3 separate regions of the Homo sapiens genome follow, and all the other regions are linked to region 1. The links are contacts of gene promoters, found by promoter capture Hi-C in blood cells and fetal thymus (Javierre and others, 2016). All regions are on one chromosome and are shown on one strand. The core of a region is centred on a gene start or on the middle of the fragment in contact, and the rest is flanking DNA. Distances in the headings are between cores, read along the strand shown. Region 1 holds the start of GPR183 (G protein-coupled receptor 183). Region 2 overlaps UBAC2-AS1 (UBAC2 antisense RNA 1). Region 3 overlaps UBAC2 (UBA domain containing 2).

Evidence for each region. The method cuts DNA at HindIII sites, captures the fragments that hold promoters and counts their contacts. A CHiCAGO score of 5 or more calls a contact.
Region 2: a fragment that was not itself captured here is called in contact with the fragment with the promoter of GPR183 in region 1 in 5 of 17 cell types (monocytes, naive CD4 T cells, total CD4 T cells and 2 more); the score reaches 6.6 in monocytes.
Region 3: a fragment that was not itself captured here is called in contact with the fragment with the promoter of GPR183 in region 1 in 1 of 17 cell types (non-activated CD4 T cells); the score reaches 5.8 in non-activated CD4 T cells.

The regions. Positions count from the first base shown.
Region 1 is chr13:99,305,788-99,309,269 of GRCh38, forward strand. GPR183 (G protein-coupled receptor 183) reads right to left here and starts at 1,612. Exons shown (of 2, transcript NM_004951.5): 1 at 1,553-1,612. All of the region lies in intron 4 of UBAC2 (UBA domain containing 2), which reads left to right. The HindIII fragment of the contact is 4,315 bases long and covers 1,080-3,482 here.
Region 2 is chr13:99,195,552-99,199,033 of GRCh38, forward strand. It overlaps UBAC2-AS1 (UBAC2 antisense RNA 1), which reads right to left. Exons shown (of 2, transcript NR_036531.1): 2 at 823-2,251. Among named protein-coding and RNA genes, the nearest start is that of UBAC2-AS1, 3.5 kb to the right of the region's middle. The HindIII fragment of the contact is 845 bases long and covers 1,459-2,303 here.
Region 3 is chr13:99,212,954-99,216,435 of GRCh38, forward strand. The region is part of intron 1 of UBAC2 (UBA domain containing 2); the gene reads left to right. It also overlaps the pseudogene H2AZP3. Among named protein-coding and RNA genes, the nearest start is that of UBAC2, 14 kb to the left of the region's middle. The HindIII fragment of the contact is 9,244 bases long and covers 1-3,482 here.

The DNA of each region.
Region 1 (3,482 bases), core at 362-2,861:
GCAGTGAACCCGCAGAGAGAAAACATGCTAAAATATAAGAAGTGTGCAGTCCTACCAGTAAGCACAGTTAGATGTGTGATCATCCATAGACTCAGGGCCATTTATTTATTTATTTATTTATCTATCGAGACAGAGTCTCGCATGGTCGCCCAGGCTAGAGTGCAGTGGCGCAATCTCGGCTCACTGCAACCTCCGCCTCCCAGGTTCAAGGGATTCTCCTGCCTCACCCTCTTGAGTAGCTGGGATTATAGGTGAGTGCCACCGTGCCTGGCTAACTTTTATATTTTTAGTAGAGATGGGGTTTCACCATGTTGGCCAGGCTGGTCTCGAACTCCTGATCTCAGGTGATCCGCCTGCCTCGGCCTCCCAAAGTGCTGGGATTACAGGAGTGAGCCACCACACCCAGCCTGATTCAGGGTCTTTATGTAAAATATCCATAACATATCTGTTGGATTCACCCTCTGGTACGTCAGTGGCCAGAGAGATGGGAGAAGAATGATGGGAGACAGTTTTTTAGCACTTATAATGAGAGGCAATGTTGTAAGGACTTGGCAGTAGTAATACTCCCCATTTTACAGGTAAAGCAGCTGAAGCCAGATATTAGGTAACTTGTGTGTGGGGGGGCCACACAGCTTGTAAATTTCATTTGATCCTGATTTCAGAGCCCTTGCTCTTATTACACTATATTGTACTCAGAGTGACACCAAAAAAACAAAATACCACGCCCCCCTCCCCCAACACACACACAAACACACATATATAAAACCCTCACTGCCCTTTAAAGGAAGTCTCTTCACAGCTTCTATTTTGCCAAGTTTCTGTTACCACCATTCCCAACCTGGACATAAATGTTGCCAAAGCACTGCATAGAATTCATTGTGATTTTTTCCCCTCAGGCACATAGAAAAGATACGTTTAGTCTAAGTAAACACAAGTATAAACCACACAACAGACTTTTTTTTCACTTATCTAATTAGTAGTATTTAGCATTTAAAAAGCAAAGATTGGTACTCTTTGCTGGCGGGAGGGTAAATTGGTAAAATGTTTTTGTAGACCAAAAAGTACCGTTTTATATCTAAAGCTTTAGAAAATATACCCTTTGCCCTAGGAATTCTACCCCTGAGATTCTATCCTGAGAAATAATCTTATATTTCTAATAATTCCTATAGCATAGGAATATTCTATATTAAAATAACTTTGTTCCTTTTCCTTCATACTAAGTTATCCTGAAATATTGGCATTATTTGCATAGTTTTGCTTGATACTGTCTTTTGTCATTGTGAGTTTATACAGTAGTACATGAAGTGAGCCCTATTTTTTGACAAAGATATTTCTGGTGGACCCATCGCTTTCAGTCAACTTTATAAGAACTAACTAGACCTACCAGTCAGCAGAGAGAGTAAACTTACATTATTAATATAATTTTTGTTAGAAGTGATGGTAGCTTGTTCTTAAATAGATTGTTTTCCTTTTTACCTTTTACCTTAAAACTTAGGCTTTTAAAGTTTTTCTTTAAAAAGTTTGTTGAAAAAGCAAAAGATCTTGTACTTACATATCAGTGACTCGTTCGGGTCTCTGTGTAGTAGCTGTGAGTAGTTGTCCAAACTGAAGTAAGTTTTAACTGTGGCATGTTGTTTTAAGAGAGGCTGTGCAGACCTCCTTTTATGGTGGTGACTTTTTTTTTCTCTGTCACCCTGTGACTGAGCATGTAATGAGCAGTTAGCCTCGTGTACGTGTGTGCACTTTGTGTTTTTTTTTGTTTTAAATGGGAAGTGAAATTTTTTATAGTGATTAAAAAAAACTATCCAAAAGCCCCTTGGAATTTATGAATTGTTGATATCTGTGGAACTTTATAAATTTTTCTGTAAAGGTTTAAGTATCAAAAAATTCTTTGAAAGAGACTGAAGCAATAAACCTTAACCAAAAAAAAGACCAAGTTACTGATGATTTTATATTGATTTTGCATGTAAAAGTATGGGTTTTTAAATGTTTTAAGGAAAATAGTGTCAACTTTGACAGTGCTTTTTACCTGGAAACTTGGTATCAGGGAGTAGTTTACACATTCCACCTTATCCACAGCTTATGAGAAAGAAACAGGTTTCTGTGGCGTGGGGGTGAGTGACAGTCCAGGATGTGGAGTGGACTGGATTAGTCGCCGTTTTCAGTCGAGAGGCTGCCTGAGTCAGAGGCTGTGTGAGTACTTGAATAACAGGGAAACAGTTGAAGGGAGGCCCATTATAGATAAAATCCAGCCTCTTCAGCACAGGGTGAAAGAGACTCATGCCATTCACCTCATAGTTGTAGTTGACTCAGTTTAAACCAACTAACGTGTCTGTCAGAATGCAGTTTATTTGTAGGCTAAATTACCAGATATGTAGCACTCAGATCAGGAGAGGTGATGTTTACACTTAGTCAGGACTGATCTGGCCATTCCCAGCCACTTCTGGGTGCTGCTTTTTACGAAGACATAGATAACACCTGTGGCAGTGAGGGGCCTGGATAGCAGGTCTTAGGAGAACTGATTAAATAAGCTGGGGATGTGTATGCTTTGTAGGCATAGGGTCATTATCCTTATGCTTGTGGAAACTCTCATAGAAAAGTGTTTACATTGCTTGTGTCAGTCTTCCTAACTCCAGAGACTAGCGGGAGGGTCAGTAAGAAGTTACTGGACATAGCTTTTGGATCAAAAGATGAGAGTCATTCCCAAAAGTTGTGATTATTTTGAAAAATGGAATATGCTGTTTCTTATTTAGATGCTTGAGTAAACTTGATGATTTTGAGGGATGATGTAAACAGAATTGAATCATTTGGTAGGAATTTGTAACTCTGTGATCTCAGAAGCCTTTCTGCTCCAGGATTCTGTAAAAATAGTCGAGTAGCTTTTGCCTCCCACAGATGTCATTAGGTTCTTCTAACGTCTAAAGTGCTGTGAGTATGGAGGAACATTGTCAGACACAAGAAAGAGCATCAAGCAAGTCAGCTGAATTCTTTGGGCCGCCACCTCACTGTGTATAAAATAAAGGTATTGAACTAAATGATCTCCAAGGTAATTCCTAGTACAAAAATTCTATGAGGGGGTAATACAGAGATTTTATGACTTGGTGGATAAACATGACATCATATTCTAGAACTAGTTCATTTAAAACTTAGGCTGCAGAGTACTTGAAGAAGACACTGTTGATAAATTTTTCAGTTTGTTGAAAGACCATTCTGGTGGGGTTTTGCCTGTTAATTTTGAAATAGTTATATTAAGTAAAACATTTTTATATAGTGAAGGACTCAGCTAGTTCAAGTAATTCCTCTGACAAACTGGATCTGTCCTCCCAACCTTCTTTTTTTTTTTTGAGACAGAGTCTCGCTCTCACCAGGCTGGAGTGCAGGGGTGTGCTGTCGGCTCACTGCAACCTCCACCTCCCGGCTTCAAGCAATTCTCCTGCCTCAGCCTCCCGAGTAGCTGGGACTACAGGCATATGCCACCATGC
Region 2 (3,482 bases), core at 631-3,130, 110 kb before region 1:
TTTCCTCAGGCCTCCGCAGCCATGTGGAACTGTGAGTCAATTAAAACTCTTTCCTTTATAAATTACTCAGTCTTGGCCGGGTGTGGTGGCTCACACCTGTAATCCCAGCACTTTGGGGGGCCGAGGCGGGTGGATCACCTGAGGTCAGGAGTTCGAGACCAGCCTGGTCAAAATAGTGAAACCCTGTCTCTACAAAAAATACAAAATTAGCCAGATGTGGTGGCGGGCGCCTGTAATCCCAGTTACTAGGGAGGCTGAGGCAGGAGAATCACTTGAACCCGGAAGGCGGAGGTTGCAGTGAGCCGAGATAGCGCCAGTGTACTCCAGCCTGGGCAACAAGAGTGAGACTCCATCTCAAAAAAATGAAAAATAGGCCGGGCGCGGTGGCTCACACCTGTAATCCCAGCACTTTGGGAGGCTGAGGCGGGTGGATCACGAGGTCAGGAGATCGAGACCATCCTGGCTAACATGGTGAAACCCCGTCTCTACTAAAAAATACAAAAAAGAATTAGCCGAGCGTGATGGCAGGCGCCTGTAGTCCCAGCTACTTGGGAGGCTGAGGCAGGAGAATGGCGTGAACCTGGGAGGCGAAGCTTGCAGTGAGCCGAGATTGCGCCACTGCACTCCAGCCTGGGCAACAGAGCCAGACTCCGTCTCAAAAAAAAAAAAAAAATTAATTAAAAAATAAATCAATAAAAAAATTACCCAGTCTTGGGTATTTATAGCAGTGTGAGAAGAGACTATTGCACCACACTGAACAAGTGTCATGAATAATTTTTTCTTTAACCTTACCCACCTGGAGATTTTCCTGATGCTAAGACCTCAGAAATGCTGTTTTATTTTATTGAAGGAGGACAATGGCTTCACATCAGAATGAGCAGGATACAACATTTTGAAAGACACATTCCCTGTTTTTTATGGGCTCACCCTTTCACAGTAGAAGACAGAAACCCAATAACAGAGACAATGGCATAAGTATTATAAAGTAGGCATGCATCAAGTGTGATGACAGCACGAAAGAGGGGATAACTACTTCTGCCATTACAGTCTGGAAGAGGTATCATTTCAGCTGATATTGTGGCAAAGTATTTTACCCAGCAGAGGGAGTATCCACTCAATGATGTTCTTAAAGTACCTAGGTAGGAGTGCTAGGCAGCAAATGATTCTCTTAATGTGTATGTCCACACATTGTTATGTGTAAGTAGCCTTATTAATTTGGTTGTAAATAAAAGGTTGAGTAATAATAAAAATGAAATCACCAAATTCTACAATTTGACCTCAAAATATGCTGTAAGTTCTGATATTATTCCTACTTTACCTGGGAAGGCAGAGCGGTTACCTAGGAAGGTGAACTGTGGAAGTCCGCTGTGGATTGGGGATACCTGATCTCATGATGAGTCAGGCTTACCCTGACTCCTTCTGGGTCTCTCTGGTGGAGACAGCCCTTCACCTCTGCAAAGCTTATCCACGTGTCTGGTGATTTCCTTATAGCATACAGAGCTTTTAAGGTTTACAAACGTATACCTATTTCCCCAATGTAGAAAGCAGATTCAAAAACAGGTTCAACAAAACATAGCAAGGCAATAGGTGATTCCTAGAGACCAACAGATTGAGTTCTTGTAATAAAATCTAGAAAAGAGAAAAGGTGGAAATGTCAGCCAGGGCAACAGAAATGATATGCACCAGGAGATCCAGGAATTCATAGTAAAGGTCAGATGAGTTTCACAGGTGTAGGGTTTCCTCTACCTCTGCACTACTGACAATCCAGGCGGGGTAATTCTTTACTGTGGGCAGGAGGAGGGGGGAGGTTGGCCCGGTATTGCCAGATGTTTAGCAGCACCCTTGGCCTCAGCCCATTAGATGCCAGTAGCACCCTCTCCCCAGCACGTTGTGACACCCAAAAATGTCTCCAGATATTGTCCCCTGGAGGTCAAAATTGTCCCCCTGCGAATCACTACACTAGTGCATCTCAGACTCTAAGGTGCACACAAATTACCTGGGGTGTCTTGTTAAACGCCAGTTCTGCTTTAATAGGTCTAGGGTAGGGCTTGGCACTTTCTAGTGCAAACAAAATCCCAGGTGAGGCTGAAGCTGCCTGTCCACAGACCACACTTGCTCCTTAGAAGACAAATCTGCAGCCACCAGTTAGCATGTTCAGGTCCTCAGGATGCAGAGTAGATGTACAATCAAGGTATGGATCACTGCAGATACTTATGAGCAGAGTCTGGATGCCATACCATCTTGCATTTAGCTGCAAAGAATGTTTATAGAATTGAACGTAAGTGAAGGGTTTATGTTTTTTAAGCTTTAAAGCACTTTTTAATGTCGGTTCTCAAACTTTTTGGAATCCCTTTATTCTTAGAAATTATTAAGAACTACAGATCTTTAGTTTATGTGGGTTTATACCTATGAGTATTTACCATAGTAGAAATTGAAACTGAGAAATGTAAAAGATATATATGAAGTTCATTAAAAAAAATACCCATTACATATTAACATATCTAACACTTTTTAATGCAAAATTACTATACTGTCCCAAGCAAAAAAATATTGGAAGAATAGCACGGTTTAACATTTTGGCAAATGCATGCACGTATGTATGTATGTATGTATGTATTTATTTATTTATTTTGAGATGGGGTCTCTCTCTGTCCCCCAGGTTGGAGTGCAGTGGCACAACCTTGGCTCACTGCAACCTCTGCCTTTGGGTTCAAGCGATTCTCATGCTTCAGCTTCCTGAGAAGCTGGAACTTCAGGTGTGCACCACCACACCCAGCTATTTTTTGTACTTTTTGTAGAGACAGGGTTTCGCCACGTTGGCTAGGCTGGTCTCAAACTCTTGACCTCAAGTGAACCGTCTGCCTCAGCCTCCCAAAGTGCTGGAATTACAGGCCTAAGCCACTGTGTCTGGCGGGCAAATGTCTTTAATGTCTGGTTCAATAGAAAACAGCTGGGTCCTCATATATGCTTCTGCTTTCAGTTTGTTGGGATACATTGCTTTGGTTGAAGCATATGAGGAAAACCTGGCTTCACCTAGATACACCCCCACGGTTGGAAAAGGAAGCATTTTAATAGCCTTTCAGGTGATACATTATTTTTTGATACTATACGATAACTTAGCAAGTGGTAGTTTCTTAAAGGTTAATTGCAGTGAGGAATCTGAAACCATATGAATGAACATTTTGGACTGTTACACTAAAGTTTACTGGTGTATTTTATGGTTCAAATTAATCTTTTACCCACATAAGATTTCATAACATTATGCATCGGTCAACTGGAAAATCCAGTTATGTAGCTCTGTACAGTGGAAAATCCAGTTACGTAGCTCTGTACAGTTGTCCAATTGTACAATGGAAAACTCCACTATATACTTGAGAGAGTAGAAAATAAAACTAATGTCTTAGCATTATTATGAAAATAGTTTTGGACTTTGCATCCCCTTAATGGGTCAGGGTGTAGTCCATCAACAGCTTCTGCAAACA
Region 3 (3,482 bases), core at 454-2,953, 93 kb before region 1:
TTTATGTAGTGTAGAAGGGATTAGTCCCACATAATGATTCCCACGCCCACGTAACCATTGTTGGTAGTCTAGTGGTCATTCTTTTAGACTTTTTCTGTGTACCTGCTTATCTATGCATTCTTTTTTTTTCTGACGCATGTATATACATATACATATACCTATACATTTGATTTTATACAGAAATGGCATTCAAATACACATTTGATGTTCTTCCAACATCTCAGATATTAAAAAACGTGAGTTAGAATGATTATAACTTTTTTTTTCAATTTTTTTTTTTTATTTAAGATGGGATTTCGCCATTTGGGCCAGGCTGGTCTCGAACTCCTAACCTCAGGTGATCTGCCTTTCTTGGCCTCCCAAGTTGCTGGGATTATAGGCATGAGCCACCACGCCCTATCCATAACTTTTTTTTTGTTTTTTTTGAGACAAGGTCTTGCTCTGTCGTCCAGCCTGGAGTGCAATGGTGTGATCTCGGCTTACTGCAACTGCTGCCTCCCGGGTTCAAGTGATTCTCCTGCCTCAGCCTCCCGAGTAGTTGGGATTACAGGCACCTGCCATCATGCCCAGCTAATTTTTGTATTTTTGTAGAGACAGGGTTTTACCATGTTGGCCAGGCTGGTCTTGAACTTCTGACCTCAGGTGATCCGCACGACTCAGCCTCCCAGAGTGCTGGGATTACAGGCATTAGTCACTGCACCCGGTCGATTATAACATTTTATCGTACTAAAATAAGTTTTTTTTGCAGTATTTTCCCGTTAGAAACACTTAGAACATCTTTGTAACTAAGTTATTGATTGCATCTTTAACCCCATTTTAAAGAAATAATCATAAATGTTGAATTATAGAATCAAAAGATAAGAATATTTTATTTTATTTTATTGTAGACAGAGTCTTGCTTTGTCGCTCAGGCTGGAGTATAGTGGCGTGATCTCAGCTCACTGCAAGCTCTGCCTCCCAGGTTCAAGCGATTCTCCTGTCTCAGCCTTCTAGTAGCTGGGATTACAGGTGTGCACCACCACACCTGGCTAATTTTTGTATTTTTAATAGAGATGGGGTTTCACCATGTTGGCCAGGCTGGTCTCGAACTCCCAACCTCAAGTGATCTGCCTGCCTCATCCTCCCAAAGTGCTGGGATTACAGGCGTGAGCCACCGCACCTGGCCTGATTGTGTATTTATTGTAGAGCCAGGGTTAGAACTTAGGTCAGAAAACCTGTCCTGCTGTTTCTTCAATCTTGTATCATTTTTTGCCTTGGCATCTTTGGTTTGTTTTTTTTTTTTTTTTTCCTGGAATCCCTCCTGGAGTAAATTTTTTTCGTGTAAGGACACGAGTGGTGAACTTCTGGATCTTGCTTGGCCGTTCTTGTGCAGTCCTGAATGACTGGATTCCTAAGTACCTAGTGTGGGTTTCCTCTTTGTTTGTGGGTACAGCCTTTTCCCGCAAGAGGCTCAAACTTGAAATGGCAGGGCTGACTCTAGGTTCTCTTCTAGTATGCAAGGAATATGAATAGGCTGGTTTGCATATAGGTTGCAGAGGTGGGGAGTAGGTGGTGGTGGGGGAAGCAGGACTGTGAGAACCCCCTGCAGTCGTCAAAGGGTGGCTCATTGCTTTCTGTGGCTTTTACTCCTGAGTGAAGCTGCCTTTCTTATTACCCTCCTTGTCCGTTCCCCGTCACCTGTGCTGTGATCTGGTTTGGAAGTTTGAAGTTACCCCAAGCTCTCTTCTACTTTTTTGCAGACCTCCAACCCCCTCATTGTTCTCCTTAAGCAGATTGTCCCCCACCCCACCCTTTTTGGAGAGTTTCTAGGATTTTATTTTGGGGGAATAAATAAATTTCTTTCCAACTGGGATGGTGGTGAAAAGGCTGTTTGTAGACTGTGGGTGGGGAAGGGTTTGAGGCCCCACTGCTGTCATGCTTGTTCGGTGGCATTTGCACCACTGGAGATGATTTTAGACAGGGTGTCAGCCCAGCAGTAAACATCATTGAAATAGAAGTCAGGTCATGACTCCCTTTTCAGTTCTTTTCTTTTTGTTTTTTTTTTTTCTTGGGGGATATGACCTTTATTGAGCTTATCCACCACAGTGGAAATAATGTCTGTACAAAGCCAAATGTTTGTTACTATAACTTCTGCATTACAATTAAAATCCAAACAGTTTTTTAAAAACAGTCAGCTCAATCAAAGCCCAGTACTTCAGAATCAATAGCTTCCTTGAAGCCACAGTATCACTTAAATATGGTTAAGACTCAAATGCAGAAATTTGGTTGGAAAGCTAATTAAACTTCCAACTTGCCCAAATAGAATTACAAAAAGACAAAATTGTGTTTTTCACAGAAATATAGTCCACTGGCATCACCAACACTGGACAGCTGTTCTTTTATTTAGAGTCCTGAGATAACAAGGAATCCAGGCATACATTAGACAGTCTTCTGTTGTCCTTTCTTCCCAATCAGAGATTTGTGGATGTGTGGAATGACACCACCACCAGCAATTGTAGCCTTGATGAGAATCCAATTCTTCATCTGCACGAATAGCAAGTTGCAAGTGACGAGGGGTAATATACACTTTACCTTTAAGTCTTTTGATGCATTTCCTGCCAGTTCAAGTCCCTCTGCGGTGAGGTACTCCAGGATGGCTGCGCTGTACACAGCGGCAGTTGCACCCACATGTCTGTGACCCGTCGTCCTAGATTTCAGGTGTTGATGAATACAGCCCTCTGGGAACTGCAAGCCGGCTCTCTGCGAGCGGGAAACCGCCTTTGTCTTGGCCTTTCCGGAGTCCTTCCCAGCCTTACCGTCAGCCATTTCGAGTTCTGCTGAAGCTCAAGCAAGGCAGAGAAAGGGCTAATCAGACCCGTGGTGAGATCCCACCATCTACTCCTTCATCGCACCGTGATTCAAACTGCCCTTTTCAGTTCTTACTATTCCTGATCGGATCAAAGAGAAAATCTTGATGTGGTGCTAGTCTGAAAGACCTCTCTAATAAAGGCTATTTTCCTATTGTAACAAAAAGAGCAGGAAGTAATATTAGTCTTTAATAACTTTGTTTTGTTATAGGTTGGTGCAAAAGTAATTGCGGTTTTTGCCATTAAAGGTAAAATGGCAATTACTTTTGTACCAACCTATATTTGTGTGTGTGTGTGTGTGTGTGTGTGTGTGTATTTTTGAGACACAGTCTCACTCTGACGCCTCAGCTGGAGTGCAGTGGTGCAATCTCGGCTCACTGCAACCTCTGCCTCCCTGGTTCAAGGGGTTCTCATTCCTCAGCCTCCGAAGTAGTAGCTAGGATTATAGATGCCCGCCACCACACCTGGCTAATTTTTGTATTTTTAGTAGAAACAGGTTTTCACCATGTTGGCCAGGCTGGTCTCAAACTCCTGAACTCAGGTGATCCGCTCACCTTGGCCTCCCAAAGTGCTGGGATTACAGGTGTGAGCCACCGTGCCCGGCCCAGTGTGTTTATTTTTATAGTTACCACCTAT